Regions from separate parts of the Homo sapiens genome. Here regions 2 and 3 are each linked to region 1. The links are contacts of gene promoters, found by promoter capture Hi-C in human tissues and cell types (Jung and others, 2019). All regions are on one chromosome and are shown on one strand. The core of a region is centred on a gene start or on the middle of the fragment in contact, and the rest is flanking DNA. Distances in the headings are between cores, read along the strand shown.

Region 1 (4,121 bases), core at 1,511-4,010:
CATTCTCTCTCTTCTTCTCCCCTTTACTATGAATGCATGTTAGCACATACTTACCACGGCTTCCCTGGTCAAGGGTCCTTTGAAACATAGAACCCTTGAATGCCCATGGCTATTGATATAGCTCCAACGAATGGAGGAACACCAGGGTTGTTGGTCTCGTGCTGATAGGATTAACAACACGGACACGTGGAGTGGTTTTAAGGAGTGAAAAGTTTAATAGGCAAGAAAGAAGGAAGGAAGAAGAAAACACCTCCCCCATACAGAGACAGAGGTAGGGAGGATTTGAACAAAGAGAAAACCCAGTGTGCAGTGGAAAAGTGGTTGCTTATATTGGGATCCTGGAGGAGGTGGTGTCTGGTTTGCATAGGGCCCAGGGGATTGGTTTGACCAGGTGTGTCATTTACATAGCTCTCGAAAAACCTGGCCCTCCCACCTTAGCCCTTTAATATGCAAATACAGGTCACCGTGATGTTCTGAACACATGGTGTTATCTGGAGGTGGCCATGACACTTGGTACACCTGATGACAAGGAAGAGATGGCGGAATCACCATGTTGAGTGAACTCAGTTTCTAAGGACTGACATTTGCATATCAAAGCTTGCGGGCCTGGCTCTTCAAGCTGCCTTTTCTGTTAGAAAAGAGATGGTTCAGGGGTTGTTTCTTAAAACAGGAAAATTTCCACTGAGAACATTTACCCTTACTATCTGCCTAAAAAGTATTTCTTAATAACTGCTATATCACTATCGTGGGGTTTTTTTCCCATTCTTTCTTTGTTGATGCCAAAGTAAAATTAAGTTAAATATTGTATCCTCTCATAGATCATGAATGCAATGAGGGCAGGCATTATATCTCTTGCTCAACAATTGGGTCCTAGGTGTGTAGGCTTAATGTCTTGTGCAGAGTGGGCATTCAGTAAACAATAATTCAATAATGAATGAATAAATAAGGGAGAATGTGGAGGAGGTTATAGGCTTAGAAAACTTTCTGGGCACTTTCAATGGTTTTAGAGGGTGATGGTATTGGGTGGTTAATAAATCTAAACTCACTTGAAAACATAAGGCTTTCCACTGGTAACAGTCCTTTTATATTTAATCAGTCATCCCAGAGTTGTGGTGAATTGGAAGTCATGGCCAAAGTATTTTACACTCCTCTATTTTCCTACCTCTTGAATCTGAACTTGCCTTATGACATGTTTTCATCAATAAAATGTGGCAGAAGTAATGTGCAGTGGGAGTCCAGGCCTTACGAAGCCTGAAGTTTCCACTTTCACTCTCTTGAAATTCTGCTGCCTTCCTATAAAGGAAGCCCAGGCTAGACAACCAAATGAAGAGGGGTCTTGTGTGTGGGTACTAAATAAGAAAGTGAGGATAGAGAAAAAAATCCAAGGCCAGTTCACCTGTTGGCACTAGAAAAAATGCAAAATATTGATTGGCAAATAGATGCAGGAAGATCGATCGATTGTGTGGTGAGGCCAAAGGGAAGAACTCTTCGAATAGTTATTTCATATTCAACAATAAGTGAGAGTTGGCAGGCAAGCAGAGATTGTGTAGGAGTTTTGAGAAGGAAGGTGTGAACAGCCCTCCAAGTGAGTGGGTGAGTGATTTGACCATGGAAACATAGGAGAGTTGCTCAGCAGCACCAAAGGTCGGCTTAATGTTTATGATCATTAAAATGAGTAATGTTAGCATCCTCGTTTGTTTTTTTCCAGTCAAATTCACTTGCTCAAGAGCAGTTCCAGAGTAGGTGGAGAGCTGGGGTTTTTCCTGGCTTGGAGAAAGGAGGGAGAGGGAGCCAAGGCCGTTGAGAGTATACGCACTAAAATGATGGGACATGAATTTATGCTGGGAAAAGAAGGACGTGTAAGAGCAGAGGGATAGGGAAAGGTGAGGAATCTGGTGAAGGTTAAGTAATTACTAGCACTAGGAGGTATGAGCTGGAATGGAAAGGGGAAGTAAAGTGAGCTGTTTGAAACTGACACTACGGAGGGTACACAGTTATGAGTAAGGTCAAGGGTGTGATCCCAGGAATGTGTGGCTGCGCTAGTGTGGGAAAGATCACAGGAGGTTGGAAGCTGAGAGGCTGTATAGTCATTGCAGGAATCATCCATGTGGATATTGAAATCACCATGAATTATGAATGAAGCCAACTGTATTACTGGTTACTATTTTTACCAGACCACTGTACGCGACTTTAGATCCCTCAACTTCCCATTTAGAGCACTTATCACGGCTTGAAATATTAGAGCGATTATTTGGGTTGGGCGCGGATTATTTGACAGTAATCAGGGTTTACAAGTCTGTTTCGTTTCTTGACTGACATACAATTAATACCCAAAAGGCAGAATGGATAGAAGAATACTATTCTATCTGTCATACAGAGAAACTTCAGATGTAATAAATTATAAAGCCAATTAACCCTACAAACAGGATCCACAGCAGTTTCACATTAATGAAAAAGCAAGACTTCAAGAGGGCGGGAGTTTTTGTCTGCTGATCTTCCCGCATCTAAAATAGTGCCTGACACATATTAGGTGCTTTGCAAATATTGAATGAAAGAATACGCCCCATCAGTATCTCACCGCGCCTGCGCTAGATGCCCTAGGTGGGGCCAGCCTTGACGCGCTGCGCCTGCGCAATGTCTCTTTGCGGGGCGCACCGGCAGGCTCCCAGCCCCGCTTCGTCGCAGCGGCTTGGGCCCTCCGGCCCTCCGTAGCCGCTCGACTGTCGCGCTGCACCAGCTTCCTCCTCGGCGTTCCCACGCCTATTTGGGCGGATTCTTGGCGCCGGAGGAAGAGGCAGGGTCACCCTCTCTCCACGTCAGAGACCTGACTGTGGAGATGGCGGCTCAGAAGATAAACGAGGGGCTGGAACACCTCGCCAAAGCAGAGAAATAGTGAGTGAGAACCTTCCGGGGGCCTGTGTGTAGACGCCGGGTCCGTCTCTCACTGGCGCGGCCTTAGCACCCGGGGGGGGCGGGAGGGAGGGCTCAGGGCTGAGGGGCCTCGGCGCGCTGGTGCCCGCAGGGCTGCCGGGGCTCGGTGTCCTCTGGGTCACACTCCCGGGGTCGGGGTCAGCTCTGCGGCGCCTCGGGAAGCGCCGTGGGTCCACCCCGCCGGAAGTCCGCTCCCCAGAGCCGGTGTGGGCGGGGACTCGGCGCAGTGCTGCGGGGCGAGGGCTTCTCTACTTGGGCGCTCTGCTCCTGAAGATTGTGGTGGGGGCTGTCTGTGCATCGGAGGCTCGTTAGCAGCATCCTTGGCCTCTACCTGCTGGGTGCCGGTCGCATCTCTTCCCCATTTGTGGCAACCCAAAATGTCATCTGGGGAACAACATCGCTCTGTTGAGAACCACCGCCCTAGAAGAGCCCCCTGTGTGGAGGGGACCATAGGTTTACCCCAAAAACTCCTCGGTGAACCTTTGTCATCTGGCATTTTACTGTCCCTGTGGGCAGGGACTGTGCTTCGTTCGTCCTTTGATGTGTATGTCCTGCCACCTCTGGTACAGTACGTAGTAGGCACCCTGCAAATGTTTGTGGGACTGAACTGATAATCCTTAATTCATCCTTTTGGCAGCCTCTTCCCCCCGTTTCATTACTCCAGTGCATTTTTATCTGGCAGTTACAGTTAATAGAAAGTCAGCATTGTGGGCCGGGCGCGGTGGCTCACGTCTGCAATCCCAGCACTTTGGGAGGCCGAGGCGGGCGGATCACAAGGTCAGAAGATCCAGACCATCCTGGCTAACACGGTGAAAACCGTCTCTACTAAAAATACAAAAAATTAGCCGGGCGTGGTGGCGGGCGCCTGTAGTCCCAGCTACTCGGGAGCCTGAGGCAGGAGAATGGCCTGAACCCGGAAGGCAGAGCTTGCAGTGAGCCGAGATCGCGCCACTGCACTCCAGCCTGGGCCACAGAGCGAGACTCCGTCTCAAAAAAAAAAAAAAAAAAGAAAAGAAAAAGTCAGCATTGTGCTCTGTGGTGGGTGCTTCACATACATAATTTCATAAGCTGAGATCTTCACAATAACTTTCCAAATAGAGATTCTAATTTTTCGTAAGAGGAAATGAGACTCAGGGAAGCCTCATAACGACTTGCCCCCAACTGCACAGGTGAAAGATCGCAGAGCCAGT
Region 2 (4,385 bases), core at 1,238-3,737, 710 kb before region 1:
AAGTGCGTTCTGGAATGGGGGCAGTGGGTGGCGCCGGCCCTTCAGCATCTTCGGCCACCGCACAGTTCAGCTGTGAACTCCTTGGTTCACCCTGAGCTTCGTCCAACCTTCTCCCTTTTCTGAAACCCGCAGAGGCTCCAGAGTCCTTTCTCTTCAGGATGGAGACCTGCATGGAGGGACTGGAGGCAGGGAGGGTGGCCCACTTCCTTTCCACACTATTGTGAGTGCCTCACCAGCATTCCTCAGTGCAGTAACAGGGAAACCTGGGGACTCAGATTTCCAAATACCATCATTTCAGTTTGGCAAGTATTGATCCAATGATGAGTATCGTGGGAAAGAAAATAATAAGTTAGGGTTTTGTCGCTTGCCAGAAAAGCTTCAGGATCCACTTCTCCTTCCTCCCTGCTCTCTCCCCACTGCCCAATAAAAACAGCTGCTTTGTTCAAAACTTAAAAACCATATTATTTAAAACTCATTGTAAAAATTTATGCTATACAGATGCTTGTAAGGAAAATGTAAAAATCGCTGGAAATCCCACCTGTTAAGATTTAGAGGAACCTCGTGTTATTCCTGCTCACAGAGACATACTCCCACATACATTTTACCCTACATTATATTATCATATAATGATAAATTAACCACATAATAAATGATAAATTATATGCTATATGTGCTGTTTTGAGACTATTTCTCATCTAACAGTATGTCAAAGATCTCTTTTCCTATAAATAAAAATCATCATTTTAATGGCTATAGAATATCATTACATACATATATGTATTAATCTGTGCACAAAATAACATAGACTGGGTGGCTTAAACAACACACGTTGATTTCTTACCATTTGGGAGCTGGGAAGTCCAAGATCAAGGTGCTGGCAGATTCAGTGCCTGTGAGGGCCCCCTTTCTGGTATGCAGATACTCGCCTTCTTGCTGTATCTCACATAGGGGCAGGGCAGGGAGAGAAGGGAGATCTGGTCTCCTTCTCTCCTTATAAGGGACTAATCCCATCTGTGACCTCATCTAACCCTAATTACCTCCTAAGGGCCCCACCTCCTAATACCGCCACGTTGGGAGTTAGGGTTTCAATACATGGATTTTAGGGGAGACACAAACATTCAGTTCATAACATTATACCATGAGTCAATTCCCATTTACTCCCATAAACAGCGCAGGGATGTGTCTTCCTGCGTGTGATGGTCACTCCAGTATATATTCCTCTAAGTGGAATTGCTGGGTCAAATGGGACACACATTTCAACTTTTGATTATATTACCAACAGTTGCTTTGAAAGAAGATATTCAGCACATTCCATGTAGAGTATGTGTGCCTCCCTTCCCAAACCCACACCAACACTGAACAGCACAAATCTTTTTACAATTTAATAATTTATAAGTGTCTCCTTATTTTTATTGGTGTTCTTCCGATTCTAATTGAACATGTTTTAAAATATTTGTTGGCAATGTATATGTCTTCTGTGATTTACCTTTATATATATCTTTGTCCATTTTTCTATTAAGCCATCTTTTTCTTATTGACTTTCAAAACCCCTCCAGGATACTATTTTTTTTTTTTTTTTTTTTTTTTTTGAGATAAAGTCTCACTCTGTCTTCCAGGCAGGAGTGCAGTTTTGCAATCTTAGCTCACTGCAACCTCTGCCTCCCGGGTTCTAGCATTTCTCCTGCCTCAGCCTCCCAAGTAGCTGGGATTACAGGCATCTGCCACCATGCCCAGCTAATTTTTGTATTTTTAGTTGAGACGGGTTTCACCATATTGGCCAGGCTGTTCTCAAACTCCTGACCTCGGGTGATCCTGCCTGCCTCAGCCTCCCAAGTGTTGGGATTACAGGCGTGAGCCACTGCACTCGGCCCCTCCAGGATACTTTTTAATTTAAAAAAATATGCAGATTAAGACTGGACCCTTCTCCAAAATATACATAAAATGTATGCATTCTGAGACTAATGACCTCTCCTGTCTGGGGATGAACGATGCTAGTGACCAGCAGCACTTGCTTTGTTAACATTTTGGAATGGAGCTCCTCTGCTGTCTTGTCATTTGTGGACCTTAGGTAGGTGTGAAGCCCCGCGTTGGAGAGGTGGCAGCCCCTCCAGACCCGAGGCAGCTGCTGCCAAGGTTGCCCTTGCTGACTGGTCCTCATTAATGGCTCAGCAAGGGTCCTGTGATCTTTGCCAGTGTTCCCTTTCCCTCTCCTTGCCATACATCTTTCCTTTACTGCCGCATAATTCTAATGAGATTACCCTGGGTCAGTCAGTTATATTAGAGAAATGATGAGCAGCAGGGAAAAGAAAATTCACAAGATGGTAACATTTAAAATAAAATTTGTTTTTGGCCTTTACCCAACAGTAGATTTCATGGTCAATAAACCACAAGCATACATATGTGTTGATGAGGAGGAAGATTTATTATTTCATATGAACTCTGGGGCCGGGTGCGGTAGCTCACACCTGTAATACCAGCACTTTGGGAGGCTGAGGCAGGTGGACCACCTGAGGTCAGGAGTTTGAGACCAGCCTGGCCAGCATGGTGAAACTCTGTCTCTAATAAAAATGCAAAAATGATCCAGATGTGGTGGTGCATGCCTGTAATCCTGGCTACTCAGGAAGCCAAGGCATGAGAATCGCTTGAACCTAGGAGGTGGAGGTTGCAGTGAGCCAAGATTATGCCATTGCACTCTAGCCTGGGTGAAAAGAGTGAAACTCCATCTCAAAAAAATAAAATAAAATAAATAAATAATATGAACCATGGAAAAATTATATAGGGAAGGAATTTAGGGATCCTGTAAGGATGATGTAGGATAAAACGTTTATGTTTAATTTGGGATTGAATAAAGTCTGTTCACTTTGGCCTAAAACTGTTCATTGTTCTTAAACAGTTTCATTCATTGGCTCCCATGTACTATCGAGGCTCAGCTGCAGCTGTTATCGTGTATGATATTACCAAGCAGGTAAGAATGTCTCCTTCAGAATTTAGATGTCATTTATGGTGGTTCTCTCACTTAGAGAGACTGGAGCAGAGACGTCACTGCTTGCATCTTGCCAGTAGCGTGCCACTATATATTGAGTTTATTTCATGTATATGTAACAAAGCATCCCATATTTATCTGCTAAATTAAACAATAATGACCATTCATTCTTAAAATTGACTGTAGAGGCAAAGTCATGCCTGCTAGTACTATTCTGCAGAATGTCAGCTTTTAAAGAAAAGGAAAATCATTTTTAATTTCTGCATGCTTTATAATTACAGAATACTTATTTTTGTTACTGTTTCAATCATACTACATACTTAAAATGCCAAGCATAACATTCGTGTGTATGTAAGTAAATCTTTGTGTGTGTATATATAAGTATATTTTTAGTTATCACGTTGAAGGTCTTAGACTTCCATCAACAAATAACCGCAGTAGTTTGATGACATTTTTTCCCACTCCTGCAAACTGAATTATTTACTTTTTTTTCTCTGGAGTGTTGACTCAGCACATAAGACTGTTAGTTTAATGACCCATCACTGTTACTTTCCACGAGTTCCTGACCACTTCTACCTAAATGTGGTGTGTTGCCCTTGGCCTGTTTTCTAGAGGACAATTGTGAGTGAAGGGCCAACAGGAAGACAGGACTCTAAATATATATGTTTCTTCCTTGGTGTAAGCATGAGCATTTACTTAGTCCTGTTATTCTTATTCATGTGGAGTCCAGGCTATCATTTTAAATTAATGTTATTTATAGGAGAAAAATCACTGATATGATTTTCTTAACTAGATCAAGTTTTAATTTTAGAAAACTTGATATGGTCTATTTAAGTATATTTCAGCTAACATTAACTTTTGTGCCTAGACAGAGGTAGTATGTTAATCTGCATGAGTCTCCTAAAAATATTTTTCTCCATTAAATTGTACTGGGCTTGTATTTCTGCTTAGTTGAAATATTATATTGAGGGGTCTTTCTAATGATTTGTGTACACTGTTGGTTTAGGATTCATTTTATACCTTGAAGAAATGGGTCAAGGAGCTGAAAGAACATGGTCCAGAAAACATTGTAATGGCCATCGCTGGAAACAAGTGCGACCTCTCAGATATTAGGTAAGATGCATTGAAATCTCTTTTGTGTAGATACTGTCCTCCATCCCTGAGTGTCATCCGTGTAGATACTGTCCTCCATCCCTGAGTGTCATCCGTGTAGATGCTGTCCTCCATCCCTGAGTGTCATCCGTGTAGATGCTGTCCTCCATCCCTGAGTGTCATGCGTGTAGATGCTGTCCTCCATCCCTGAGTGTCATCCGTGTAGATGCTGTCCTCCATCCCTGAGTGTCATCCGTGTAGATGCTGTCCTCCATCCCTGAGTGTCATCCGTGTAGATGCTGTCCTCCAT
Region 3 (3,990 bases), core at 1,491-3,990, 780 kb before region 1:
AAGATGCTGGACTTGGGAAAACCCCTGGCAGGGGCTGCATTGAGGCTGGTGACTCCTGTTGGGGCATTGTGTGCTGCATAGTGTAATAGGCAGCCACTCTAGGCCCAGCATGGTGGCTCACGCCTGTAATCCCAGCACTTTGGAAGGCCGAGGTGGGCGGATCACTTGAGGTCAGGAGTTCGAGACCAGCCCGGCCAACATGGTGAAACTCCGTCTCCACTAAAAGCACAAAAATTAGCCAGGTGTGGTGGCGGGCACCTATAATCCCAGCTACTAGGGAGGCTGAGGCAGGAGAATTGCTTGAACCTGGTGGGGCAGAGGTTGCAGTGAGCCGAGATAACGCTACTGCACTCCAGCCTGGGCAACAGAGTAAAACTCCGTCTCAAAAAAAAAAAAAAAAAAAAAAAAAAAGGCAGCTGCTCTGGGCACCCCTGGATTGTGGCAAACTTCAGAATTGGGTGTCAGTGCTAAGTGACCAAGACAATACCACCGTGGATGGATCACAAGGGCTGGAGTTGCAGAGTCAGAGCTGATGGAGCTTTCCTGCCAGCCACGCACCATCTGTCCAGTGGGAAGTCCTTTCTGTGCTGGGAGGAAGGGGCCAGCAGGACCACTTGTCCTGCGCCAGTGCCAGCCTCTCTCAGCCTGTGTGCAGCACGTACATGTCCATGGCAGCCCTCGGCTGGATCTCAGGGCTGTGGGCAGGGGTGGAGGCCACTGCTAGGCTGTCCTGCTGCTCCAGCAGCCCCCTCAGGGGCCGTTGACTTTTCACAGGAACCCAGGCCTGCCATTGAGGGTGGAGATTTCATTTGGAAATGCTCGCCTCACTTCCCATGCGGTTCCTCTGTCTGCTTTATGAGCGGGACATACCCCTCATCCACTGCCTCATCCAGGTTTCCTGGTGTGGCAGGGTCCCCAGGGACCCAGAGGGAGCCAGGAAATGTGAGTCAGTGGCTTCCCAAAGTGGCTGCCTGGCCTGTGGTGTCATAGGGCTGCTGCTGTCTGCCCTTTGTCCTGTCTCACGCTGTCCCCAGCCCTCCCAGCACTGGCCGTTGAGAAGACAGAGTTGAGTTGACTGTCACTGTTGTCTTGGGGAAGACCACCCGGCAAAGCACTGGCAGGGCTCGAAGTGGGAAGGCAAGGTCAGACTGGATTGAGAGTTGCAACTGTGATTGAAGGCGGTCTTTCAAAGCAGGCTCTTGGTGAGGGTTGGGTAAGAATCGCGATATTGCAGCGCAGAGTTGGTGGAAACAGCAAGCAAGGGTTTCGAGGACTTCAAAGACTCCTAGGGGCAAACTTCTACTGCTTCCTACTGAAGAGTGGATGGGCCTTCAGGGAAGTTCCTGGCAGGAACAGTCCTCCCATTTGTCTGGGCGGATGGTCCGGAAGAGCAAAGACATGCTAATGAGACAGAGGAATAGCAAGTCCCCTTCAAGCCGACAGGAAGGGGCCTCAGTTCTCAGCGCCAGCCTGAGTGTGGGGGCTGCTTGGCTCGGCCTGTTTCCACGCTAGGGACGTTCTACGTGTTTTCTTCTTCATGGCTTTTTGTTTTCTAATAAAAGATGTTTCTATTCATAAATGTTGTAGATGAGGATAATGTCTATTTGTTTTATTTTGGAGGGGCAGGGTTGGGGAAGGCTGAGGAAGGGGGCTGTCTGATTGCTGGCTCATGCCCAATTACAGTTTATTTCCTCCCTGAGTGCCCTCTTTGATGTGGGAAGGAAAGGGAATGAAATCCTTCTCTTTTACTCATGAGCAGTGCAGACGCCTTCTCCGGACAGTTTGGCTTGACCTGTGCAGAGTGCTTTTTCCCCAGCGAAATGGAACAGGAAAGCTCACGGCAGCAAGTGGCAGAGGGGTGGAGCCACAACTTGGCTCTTTTTCCTTCTTCTTTTCCTTCTTCTTCTTTTTAAAAAAAATCCAGTCCACTAAAGCACGAATGTTTTTCAAAGTCGCAAATGAAATACAGTAGGATTTTAAAAAACCAAAGCTGTCTTTCAACATGTTGATGTTCTCGGACTGTAGCAAACATGGTTTGGACTTGTCCATTTAGAAAGCAGTGTAAACAGGCTCTGAAATGCCATTGTACCAAGGGAAATGAGGACATGCGGCAAAGCTTTAAGAATTCAGCCCCTAGACCTGCTTTTGACTGAAATAGTTTTGCTTGAAATAATTTATTTTCCTTGAATTTTTTGATTTTTATTTCTTCAGTTCTGTCTGGTCACCTTCCCTGTATAGGCATGACCAGCACCTGAGGAAGAATGATTAACACATGTACAAATAACTTAAATGTACTCGAAAGCTATAAAACAATATGTGTGTTACTGAAAATAAACAGATAGTGTAATACCTGGATTATAAACATCTTGATCCCTTGAAAATAAAGTATTGCCTTAATTCAAATAATAATACCTCAATGTTTATATAGTGCCTATCTGAAAAGTATTTAAAGTTACTGTTATTTTCTAGATTTCCTGGCGGGTTGATTCACTGGAGGGCTAGTTGGTTAGGGAGGTAGCACCTGAGCTGCCACCCTCTCACAGCTCCCAGATGGACATGGAGTTGGGCGCTGGGTGGGTTTGGGAAAGCTCCTGGGTCCGGCCCTCCCGGATATGCTTCCTGCCCCAGGGCTTCAGGGGATCTGCGTTCTCAGGCCACATGCAAAACCAGTTGTTAATCATCCCTGACACACTCTGAGTCACCACCACCCTCTGGGAAGCCACAGGGAGACCTTGGCTGAAGCCACCGCAGCACCATGTTTCGCCATCTTGCAGCCAAGTCTGTTTATTTGTCTGCCTTTGGCACCTCCAGGACCTCTGTCTTTTGATTGTTGGTCTCAGTTTGCAGACAGATCTAACTGTGGACTCCCGGGTGCGGTCTGTGCCTGTTGGGAAGATGGGCAGCTGACTCACTTCACTGTCATCCCCTCACCCATCTTCTGTGGTCCCAGGCTCCACTTACCTCCTCTATATGACCCTGTAGGCGCAGTGGGTGCTTTAATCATGGGGCACAGTGGGTGCATTAATCTTTCCTCATTTTAGTTTGCATTTTTATTTAGCGGTGGAGTTGCCTCCATGAATTTCTGTTCTCATCCACACCTTTAGTTTTTCTCTTTTTATTTTCCATGTCATAGTAGGAGGAAATTTGGAATTAGCAGAAAACATTACTGAGTATTTCCAGTGGAAAACTATGCATTGTGTAGAGCATACCCTTCCAAGGTATCTGATTGTAGCCTTTGATCCATTTCATACCTCCGTAAGTTGTAGGTAATTGGTAGCAATGCAAAATAACTATTGCCTGTAGACATGCAAAAATGTCTGTTAGCATGGCTAAAATGACCCCCTCCAAGCCGTAGGAAAAGCAAAGTTCGTATTTGTAAATTCATTTCAACATTCCTTTACTCCATATATACTTATGCTTCTCTGACTTCTCCTTTTAACTGGTTGTAACATCTTATTAATTCCCTAATTAATGGTGAAGTCAATAAAATCTTTGACATGTTCATTTTGTATCTGTATGAGAGTTGATTTTACCTTTGATTATTATTTTTAACGTAATATTTTATGGTCCCTATTAAAAATAACAAAGGCACCGTGCTTCCTGGTTAACCAGTGACAAGAATGGGCCCTAACAAGAGGAACTTGGATGCAAAAAGCAGAATGAATTAATCCTGAGGGCTTAAGACATTGGAAGTTTTTCTCTTAATATTGTAAAAATGTGTAGACTCATAAACAACCAATAGTCAAAGAAGAAATTACAATGGAAATTGGAAATTACCTTGAGATGAATGAAGACAAAAGCACAACATTCCAAAACTTCAGAGCAGTGCTCAGAGGGAAACTTATAGCCATAAACACCTACATTAAAAAAAGAGAAAGACTTCAAATCAATAACCCAATTTTACAACATAGGGAACTAGAAGAAGAAGAGCAAAATAAACTCAAAGTTACAAATTGTAGGAAATACAGAGTGAAGAGAAATGAAATAGAG

The links. Contacts are between HindIII fragments. The study calls those that stand out against the background at their distance.
Region 2: a contact is called between a fragment that was not itself captured here and the fragment with the promoter of NAPG in region 1, in 1 of the 25 tissues and cell types used here (IMR-90 fibroblasts).
Region 3: a fragment that was not itself captured here is called in contact with the fragment with the promoter of NAPG in region 1 in 1 of the 25 tissues and cell types used here (lymphoblastoid cells).

What each region holds. Positions count from the first base shown.
Region 1 is chr18:10,523,267-10,527,387 of GRCh38, forward strand. It overlaps NAPG (NSF attachment protein gamma), which reads left to right and starts at 2,761. Exons shown (of 12, transcript NM_003826.3): 1 at 2,761-2,892. The coding sequence starts at 2,837. RefSeq lists a silencer at 2,904-3,153. The HindIII fragment of the contact is 8,483 bases long and covers 1-4,121 here.
Region 2 is chr18:9,811,127-9,815,511 of GRCh38, forward strand. It overlaps RAB31 (RAB31, member RAS oncogene family), which reads left to right. Exons shown (of 7, transcript NM_006868.4): 4 at 2,894-2,965; 5 at 3,990-4,096. Among named protein-coding and RNA genes, the nearest start is that of TXNDC2, 73 kb to the right of the region's middle. The HindIII fragment of the contact is 8,789 bases long and covers 1-4,385 here.
Region 3 is chr18:9,740,993-9,744,982 of GRCh38, forward strand. The region is part of intron 1 of RAB31 (RAB31, member RAS oncogene family); the gene reads left to right. Among named protein-coding and RNA genes, the nearest start is that of RAB31, 35 kb to the left of the region's middle. RefSeq lists an enhancer at 2,540-2,834. The HindIII fragment of the contact is 7,473 bases long and covers 1-3,990 here.